3 separate regions of the Homo sapiens genome follow, and all the other regions are linked to region 2. The links are contacts of gene promoters, found by promoter capture Hi-C in blood cells and fetal thymus (Javierre and others, 2016). All regions are on one chromosome and are shown on one strand. Each heading gives the region's core, a stretch centred on a gene start or on the middle of the fragment in contact. The rest is flanking DNA. Distances are from core to core; before and after follow the strand shown. Region 1 holds the start of OR1S2 (olfactory receptor family 1 subfamily S member 2). Region 2 holds the start of OR5B17 (olfactory receptor family 5 subfamily B member 17). Region 3 holds the start of OR10Q1 (olfactory receptor family 10 subfamily Q member 1).

What was found. Contacts are between HindIII fragments. The CHiCAGO score rates a contact against its expected background, and 5 or more counts as called.
Region 1: a contact is called between the fragment with the promoter of OR1S2 here and the fragment with the promoter of OR5B17 in region 2, in 4 of 17 cell types (M2 macrophages, neutrophils, monocytes and 1 more). The highest score is 5.9, in M2 macrophages.
Region 3: a contact is called between the fragment with the promoter of OR10Q1 here and the fragment with the promoter of OR5B17 in region 2, in 4 of 17 cell types (neutrophils, M2 macrophages, monocytes and 1 more). The highest score is 8.3, in neutrophils.

What each region holds. Positions count from the first base shown.
Region 1 is chr11:58,202,737-58,205,900 of GRCh38, forward strand. It overlaps OR1S2 (olfactory receptor family 1 subfamily S member 2), which reads right to left and starts at 1,406. Exons shown (of 1, transcript NM_001004459.2): 1 at 468-1,406. The coding sequence starts at 1,406. The coding sequence ends at 468. The HindIII fragment of the contact is 6,408 bases long and covers 1-1,527 here.
Region 2 is chr11:58,357,797-58,360,677 of GRCh38, forward strand. It overlaps OR5B17 (olfactory receptor family 5 subfamily B member 17), which reads right to left and starts at 1,273. Exons shown (of 1, transcript NM_001005489.2): 1 at 328-1,273. The coding sequence starts at 1,273. The coding sequence ends at 329. The HindIII fragment of the contact is 4,652 bases long and covers 1-1,812 here.
Region 3 is chr11:58,227,251-58,230,362 of GRCh38, forward strand. It overlaps OR10Q1 (olfactory receptor family 10 subfamily Q member 1), which reads right to left and starts at 1,668. Exons shown (of 1, transcript NM_001004471.2): 1 at 632-1,668. The coding sequence starts at 1,625. The coding sequence ends at 666. The HindIII fragment of the contact is 6,807 bases long and covers 1-2,388 here.

The DNA.
Region 1 (3,164 bases), core at 156-2,655, 150 kb before region 2:
AGGGGATTAGGATATCCATAACCTTAAACATTTATCTTTTCTTTATGCTGGGAACATTGGAATTATTCTCTTTTAGCTATTTTGAAATATATAATAGATTACTGTTTACCATAGTGCCCCATAATGATTTATCAAACAATAGGTCTTATTTCTTCTATCTAACTGTATTGTTGTACCCATTAATCAACCTCTATTCAACTCCACTCCACTTCTCTGCTACTGGGCCCTGGTAACCACCAATCTACTCTCTAAGGATGCGTGTTATTCTTGTGACTTACCATGGCAGTTACAGATTTTGTTTCCAAGACAAGAGCTAAGTGGAAAAGCTCCAATCCCCTTAGAGGTTGGAATAGGAGACAGACATCTGCAAGTTCATCAAAAGTTGAACCGTCACAACTGTGTCATACACTCTGGGCTGAATCATTTATCTGATTATGTGGACTAAAAGAATGTAGATGTCCAGGGCATCAAAGGGAAGAAATTTTTCTATTGATGAGCTTTCTCAGGGCACCTTTCATATCCTTATTCCTCAAGCTGTAGATGAAGGGGTTCATCATGGGTGTCACCACAGTGAATAGGACAGCACCAATCTTATCAGTGTCCTCAGGGTGAGTGGAGGAGGGGAAAAAGTACACGCCTACAGTGGTTCCGTAGAACAGTAATGCAATTGTCAGGTGAGAGCCACAAGTGGAGAAGGCTTTCCACTTTCCCTGTGTGGATGATACTCCCAGGACAGCTCTGATGATGCAGACATAGGAGAAGAAGATGAGTACAAAGGGGAAGATGATAACTGATAAACCCACAATAAACAACACAAGCTCATTGATCATTGTATCTGAACAGGACAGTTTGAGCAGAGGGGCCAAGTCACAGAAGAAGTGTGGGAGAGTGTTGTGGTCACAGAAGAGCAATTGAATGAGCAGAAGGGTGTGTGTAAGAGCAATAATATTACTGAGGAACCACGAGATGACTGTGAGCAAAGTGCCGAACCTGGCCCGCATGAAAGTTGTATAGTTCAGAGGGTGGCAGATCGCCACAAAGTGGTCGAAGGCCATGGTCCCCAAAAGCAAATTGTCAGTGACGACAAACACAATAGAAAAGTACATCTGTGTGATGCAGCTCTCATAAGAGATGGATTGGCTGTTGGTTTGAATATTCACCAGCATTTTGGGGACTGAGTTGGAAATGGAGGAAATATCAGCAAAGGATAGGTAGGCAAGGAAGAGATACATGGGGGTGTGAAGGTATATATCCAAGCTGATAGCCACAATGATGAGCCCGTTCCCAACCACAGTGACCACATACATACTCAGGAAAAGCACAAAGAGGAGGTTTTGATGTTCAGCCTGGTTGGAGAGTCCCAGGAGAATGAATTCAGTGATGGTGGTTTGGTTTTCTTGATGCATATTTCTGCTGATCTGAAGAAAGGAACACAAAGTCTTCATACACCTACAAGAAAATTTAACATGGTGTCATTTGGCTGCAGCCATTACAGTAAGGCACTTCCTTTAAGCTGATGAGCAATAAAGCTTCTTCTGCTTATTAAGTGGAAGTGCTACTTAATAAGGAAGTATTTCAGCAGTGCAGAGATTTGGAAAATGCCACAGAAAAAGACAGGACATGGCAGATTCTTCTCAATGAACATGTTTTAAACTCTAACAGAATTCTGAATGTGATTTTCCCAGTTGGTTCTAAATGTAGGTTAAATCCCCCAAACTGAGGATCATAGGTGAGGCATACCCTATATTCTAGAGATGTTAGGTACATGTGCAGGAATTACTTAAAAGTTACCAAACTGGTCCCCAAATCATCTCCCTTGTTCAACTTTATGCCTTAAATCTAAGAAAGGAGAAATTTCAAGTCTCGTAAAAGTGAAGAGACTGGAGAAGGAAACACAACTAAGGGTTAGGAATGGCTATGGGAGTGTACACCATTGTGTGGGTGCTTCATCCCATTAACGCCGGGGGAGAACTCCAAAACAAGTGCTTTTGGAGAATAAGTACAAGTAGGAGCAATCAGGGTTTTACTTCATCTGTGGCTAGATATTAGCTTCAAGAAAATTTAGGGGGCACAGATACACTTAAAGACTTCTGTTTGCCTCTCATTTCTAAAGGTGAGGGGCTCACTGGATCAGGTCGTGATGGCAGGGTAGAGGGAAAAGATGGTGGTTAGTAGGGCAATCTGCATTTTCACCCATGACATGGCATAAATATGTGAATTTCCCATAGGACACGTGATGCTATAGGAGGTCATTGGAGTCAAGTCACCTTGTTGAGATTCCAATCCAGAGACAGCCTATTGGGGCAGAGGAGGCTGTAGCAATAAGAAACCATGAGGTGGGTCTCTTTTGAAAGAGAGATCTTAAAGAGATCAGGGACATAATTCATTGCCCTTGTCAGGGAACCGCATAATGGGGCAGTCTCCAAAAGGGAGCCTCTGACAATCCTCAAAATGATCTCAAGAGACACCATGCCTGCCACATATAAGGCACAAGCTGCTAGTATCTATGGCAACAGATATGAACACTTTTGCCTTTTTTCCCATCCCCATTCTTCCTCCCTGACCTGATAAAACTGAAAAAGAAGGAAAGACCAAAATGACTAAAACAACAACAACAATAGTAACAACAACGGTTTTGCGGGAAGAGAGGCCAAAGAGCAAGGGAAGAACATATGCTCCCACCTTTCCACTGTATGACCCAAGCTACACATCAGATCTGAACTTACAAGGTAGGACCCATGCTTTGAATTGATAGTGAAGCTGAAGTTTAAAATTGGGCTGGACTTGGTTTTTTAATACCTGGAAATGGGTCTTCAGTATCAAAGTTAAACATTTTTAAAACCTTAAGTGGCCAGAAAGGTAAACGGCTCTCACAAGGTGTCATCCAGGAGAAGGGAAGAGAGACTGGACCTAGTATGATTTTCCTTGTGATTTATTGGAAATAATTTCAGCTTGGGAACAAAGAGACATTTGTCCCTCTTTCTACTCTCCTAACATTGTCTCCCTCTCATTTTATCCCTCTCTTCTACCTATCTCCAACATCACTTATCTCTCAAAGATTTTCTTTCCATTCAGCATCCAGAAAAGAGGAAATCATGTCTGGAATTCCTGAAAACTGAAAGGCATTGGAGATTGAGGCAGAGATCTGAAGTTTCTTTGCTTCT
Region 2 (2,881 bases), core at 23-2,522:
TATTTACCATTTATAAATTGTCATATGAACAAGCTGTACCAAATACCTAAAATTATTAATGCCTGAAATATTAGTTTATTAAGAAACAGTAATGACTCATAGTTGGCTAAAATATGACAAGAGACAACACATATTTCATTAAACTCCATGAGAAATTGTCATCGTATTTTTCTAACTCGTGGATACTTAGAACTGTTTCTCAACTAAAGACAAAAATAATATTAGATGAAATTTTACATTCTATATACCATATAGCATTTTAACATTTGAGTTATTGTATAAAGTAGATCTAAGTGAGATAAAATAACATTGTGATGATTTTGCATCATTAAAAGACTGAATCTAGAGAATATTTTGCCTTCTCAACAACCTTCATGAATGCATTCTTCACGTCTTTGTTCCTCAGGGTATAGACTATAGGACTGAGCATGGGGATGATCATAGTGTAGAACACAGATGCAATTTTGTCTGTGTCCATGGAATGACTGGAACTTGGTCGTATGTACATGATGATGACAGTTATATAAAATAAGAAAATGGCAATGAGGTGAGAACCACAGGTAGATAAAGGCTTCTGGTATCCCTTACCTGTGTGCCTCTTAAGAATGGTGATCAATATGAACAGATAGGAAATCAAGGTAACAAGAAGTGCAAAAAAGACATTAAAACTTGATATAAGAACAAGAATCAACTCACTAATGTGTTTCTCAGAGCAGGTCAGAGTAATGACTGCTGGTTTGTCACAGAAAAAGTGATGAATCACATTGGACATGCAGAAAGAGAGGCGAAATGTATCTCCAATTTGGATAGAAGCATTCAGAAAACCAATGACATAACAGCCTATAGCCAGACAAGCACACACACGTGTTGTCATGGTGGTGGTATAATGTAGGGGGTTACACACTGCTGCGTAGCGGTCATAGGCCATTGAGGACAAGAGGTAATTTTCCACAGTGGCAAAGACTGCACAAAAGAACATCTGAGCAGCACAGGCACTGTAGGAGATGGCTTTGTCTTCTATAAGCAACCCAGTTAAAACCTTTGGAGTGACAGCTGAGGAGTAACCAATGCCTGCAAGAGACAGGTTACTGAGAAAAAAGTACATGGGAGTGTGGAGATGAGAGTCCAGCAGGATTAATATGATCATCCCCAGGTTCCCAGTCAGAGTGATGAGGTAGATGAGGGTAAACATGATAAAGAGGGGAACCTGTAGTTCTGGGGCATTGGTTAGACCAAGCAGGATGAATTCACTCACCTCTGTATTATTCTCCATGGATGTTATTTTAGAATCACAAGATACTCTGTAGCAAGGAGAGATAAAAAAGAAAAACCCTGTGATGAACAAAACAGAGTTGCACAAAACTGAAATGTATGTGTTATTTTATTATAGCAATGATTTGTTTTCTATATTTCCTAGATCAAAATTATGGATATGAAAACACAATTTAGTGGATAACTTATCTATACAGTAATAGACTTTTGAAGAAAAAGGGTCTTCGTGGATCATCTTTCCAGCTTCTTAATTTTGTGTCTGAGTAAATGGAGTCATAGGAAGGGAATAATGAGTTGTCCAATGTCACATGCCTGAAGTGAATCTATCTCCCAAATAATATGTTTTTTGAATCTAACATCTTAAACACACTTATAGTTGTCTCATGCCAGATGCTTTATATGTACATCCTCATAGAATTCTCTCATTAATCCTATTATTTAATTAGTTATTATTGCCAATTTATACATGAAGTATCTTGGTAGAAAAAAAGAGTTTGAATAATTTATTCAAGATTACACAAGCACCAGTAGATAGAACCAAGCTTTAGACACAATCAGGGTGGTTCCCAACCTAAATTAAAAGAATTAAAATTCTTTTAATGAATTTGAATTATTTTAAATGTTAATCTATTTATATGTACTCATTCTATCTATTATACCAAGCATAACATATGAAGTTGCATAGTAGAGCAATGCACAAATAAATGCATACTAGATGAAGTGGAATAAATGCAGCATTAATGTCATGTGCAACCAACAAAGCCAATTCTGCAGAGAAGATATAGCATTGGGTATAAAATCTAGGACTCTAAGAAGAGGTAGATTTGTATTAACTCATAAGCCCTAACATTTACTACTTGGGAGACACTGGTCTTAATCTAACTTCCTTGAATCTCATTTTATCCATTAGTCAAATGAAGATGATATTAGGACTTATGTCAAGAGATTATTTTGAGAGTTAAATGAGATAATGCTCAGCTGTTGGCAAAATGTGGGCACTCAGCACAGTCCTGATGAGTGCTAGCTATAATATTATTATTAGGATGGAATGGTGGTGCATATGTTGGTGTAGAACACATAGAGGTGACACACAGGGCTGAAGGTGTGGGTGGGTTTTCAAGTTGGCAGTTTTACTCTGTCTGATCTGTATTTTCTTACACACTATGTCCAGTCTTTTGTTTCCTTCAGCATTTCTCACTCTATCCATTCTTTGCCAGGTGAATGACTGTGTCAGCCATCTAGCATGAGAACCCAGGGATCTTCAAGTCCTGTTGTGTTTAATTTCTCCCTTTCAAACTACATTTTACCTTGTGTTGAAACAATCCCCTTTTATCTTAGACACATTCTTCCTGTCATTACTCTCAACACTTAGCAGGATATCAGATATTGAGGGTTGGAGGTTCGTAGTCTTGGGGGCTGACTGTAGGCTGCAGATGTGTTTATGCACAATCTTTTTATTTGAATTTGAATCTGTCAGAAGGACATTCATTTCCTCATAACCACTATTGATTGTCTATCATTTTTCTCCTGCCCCCAGTACACATCAGTTGACACTTCTAGAATTCAAATTATTTGTTTGCCAAAAAACTACCCACATAATAATATAAGC
Region 3 (3,112 bases), core at 418-2,917, 130 kb before region 2:
GTCGTGAGGAAGGTGGAACAGCAAAGACTAGTGTGAGAGCCACCAGCACAGAGGGCTCATGCAGGCAGGGCTGGCATAGACCAGAGGTAATTCTCCATACCCTAGCAAGGCTGGTACATAGTAGGTGATTAGTCAATGAAAGAAAATTCCTAGCCCCTTTCTGGCATGAAGAAAATGAAAGCAACCAGTTGGGATGTATGGTGCAAAGGAAATTAATGCATTAAGTAAGCTATTGTTTGTCATATACTGATACCCAAAACAATAATAAAATGTGTTTATTTGAGCAAAATATGTCTTTATGAATATTCCTTACTTAAGGCAACTTTCACAGGGTAAATTACATCATCTCCCCAGGAGGCAGCATGCCTATCAGCCTTTATTCACAGTATGTATGGGGTGTTCCTAATATGGCAATTGACATAGGTGAGCTGCAAATCCTTAAAGTAGAGCTAAGTAAACTAGCATTCCTACGCTGTAAGTTCTGTCCAAATTTTCATATCTTAGTCAAAGCACTTCAGAAAAATGAGCATGAATTGTGAACTTGGGGCAAATATGGCAAAAAAGAAACATCAAGTGCACAGTGTGAGAAAGTACTACAGTTCTGTGTCATTTAGAGTTCTTTGACACAGCAACAGACAGACACCCAGCCCAGTGCCCCTAAGCCTTCAGTTGGCGTCAGAGGCTGCTTTACGGATAATGGCACTCCTCAGAGCACCTTTGACATCCTTGTTCCTAAGGCTGTAAAGCAAAGGGTTGAGTAAGGGGGTGACAAAGGTGTAGACCAACGCGATTTGGCTGTCCTCATCCTCTGAGGTGCTGGACCGAGGACGCAGGTACACGAGGCTGCAGCAGCCATACTGCAGCAGGACCACGGTGAGGTGGAAGGAGCAGGTGGAGAAGGCCCGGCGGCGGCCCTCGGCAGAACGGATGCTCAGGATGGCACAGGTGATGAACACGTAGGAGACGCAGATGAGCAGGAAGGGGATGGTCAGCACGAGGATGCTCACGACATAGAGGACAGCCTGGTGCACGCGGATGTCAGCGCAGGCCAGGCGCAGGACGGGAGGCACATCGCAGAGGAAGTGGTTGATTTCCTGGTGGTGGCCGCAAAAGGGCAGGGTGAAGATTAAGGCGGTGAGCTGCAGGGAGGGGAAGAGGGCCAGGCCCAGGGCCCCACCCAGCATCTGCGTGCACAGCTCGCGGGTCATGATGAGGGTGTAGTGCAGCGGGTGGCAGATAGCCACATAGCGGTCATAGGCCATGATCGCCAAGAGGAAACAGTCCGTGCTGCCGAGGGTGACAAAGAAGAACATTTGGGCCCCACATCCAGCCAACGAAATGGGCTTCTGGGCCCCCAAAATGTTGGAAAGCATCAAGGGTACTACCACGGTGGTGTAGCAGAGTTCCAGGAAAGACAGGTTGGACAGGAAGAAATACATCGGGGTGCGGAGGGTGCTGTGTGTGCACACCACCCAGATGATGGCTGTGTTGCCACAGAGGATCATCAAGTAGAGGAGGAGGAAGAGAAGGAAGAGAAGAACCTGGAATTCAGTGGCTGTGGTGAACGCACGGAACACAAACTCAGTGGGCTCAGACTGGTTGAAGACAAGTTTCCCCACAGGCATGTCTTATGCAAAAGAATAGGACGCGCTGAGCTCTTCTTGGCTGAGTTGCTTTATTTCTTTTTTTTCTTTTTGAGACGGAGTCTCGCTCTGTCGCCCAGGCTGGAGTGCAGTGGCGGGATCTCGGCTCACTGCAAGCTCCGCCTCCCGGGTTCACGCCATTCTCCTGCCTCAGCCTCCCAAGTAGCTGGGACTACAGGCGCCTGCCACTACGCCCGGCTAATTTTTTTGTATTTTTTTAAGTAGAGACCGGGTTTCACCGTTTTAGCCGGGATGGTCTCGATCTCCTGACCTCGTGATCCGCCCGCCTCGGCCTCCCAAAGTGCTGGGATTACAGGCGTGAGCCACCGCGCCCGGCCGCTTTATTTCTTTAGTAAAAGCAGGAGTGTACAATTTTATTTGGAATTAACTATTTAGTAGCTAGTTTCCAATCACGGTGCATGAGAATGAATTCACGATATAGGGTTTGGTATACTTTTCCTTGGAAATCCTCATGAATGGGATAGACAGTCATCTGCAGAAATTCCTGGGGGCAAGACATGTAGACACATGTAGATGTTCCTTGTGAAATATCTCCCCCCACCCCGATATTTTCAATCCAATTGATAAGACTTAATTATTTTGCTTGTATTTAATTACAGTGAAGAGTTGTATGGTTGCACATATTTTAAAATTAGATAAATGAATTTGTCTTTTACTTTTTTCAGTAAGCACTCTCATTGAAATATAACATACATGTGGAGGAATTCACAAATCCTAAGTGTGAAGCTTGATTTGTTTATTTATTTTAACATCGTAAATACGCCAGTATAACCACTACAAAGATTAAGAAATAGAACGATTCCAGTGACCTACAAACATCCTTCATGTTCTCAGTCTTTATGCTTCACAAAAGTAACCACTTTTTGACTTTTATCATTACAGATTGATGTAACTATGTTTCAACTTATATATGAAATGCTAAAGCATGTACTTTATTGTAACTGGCTTCAACATTATGTCTGCAAAGGTTATTCTTGTTGTTCTGAATCAATCCTTTGTTCTTTCCATTGCTTTATGGCTATAAGTTATTCACTTTACATTCAGTTATTTTGACTCCACATACAAGTAGGAAAACACCCATTGTTACAATCTTTTCTGATATGTACTCTTCATATATTTCCTCTCTTTTGAACATTTTATCTAAATTTCCAACAGGAAGCTAAACTTTTGGACTCAAATAGTTTCAAATGAAAGGGAAGTGAACAGAGTCAGGTTAAAATTAAAGTGGAGCTTCCTGAGATAAGAAAAGACAATGAGGAAACTAAAAATGCAATAGCACAATTGAATTATGCATTAACATAATCAAGAGAATAAGAAAGACCTTTGCAAGCATCTGGGAAGTTAAAAATACCTGTGAATTAAGCACTTTCAGGTTAGACTACAACTTTATTTTTAATACAAAAATTTAAGAGACAATACAAAATATCTACAGAATTTTAAGAAAAACA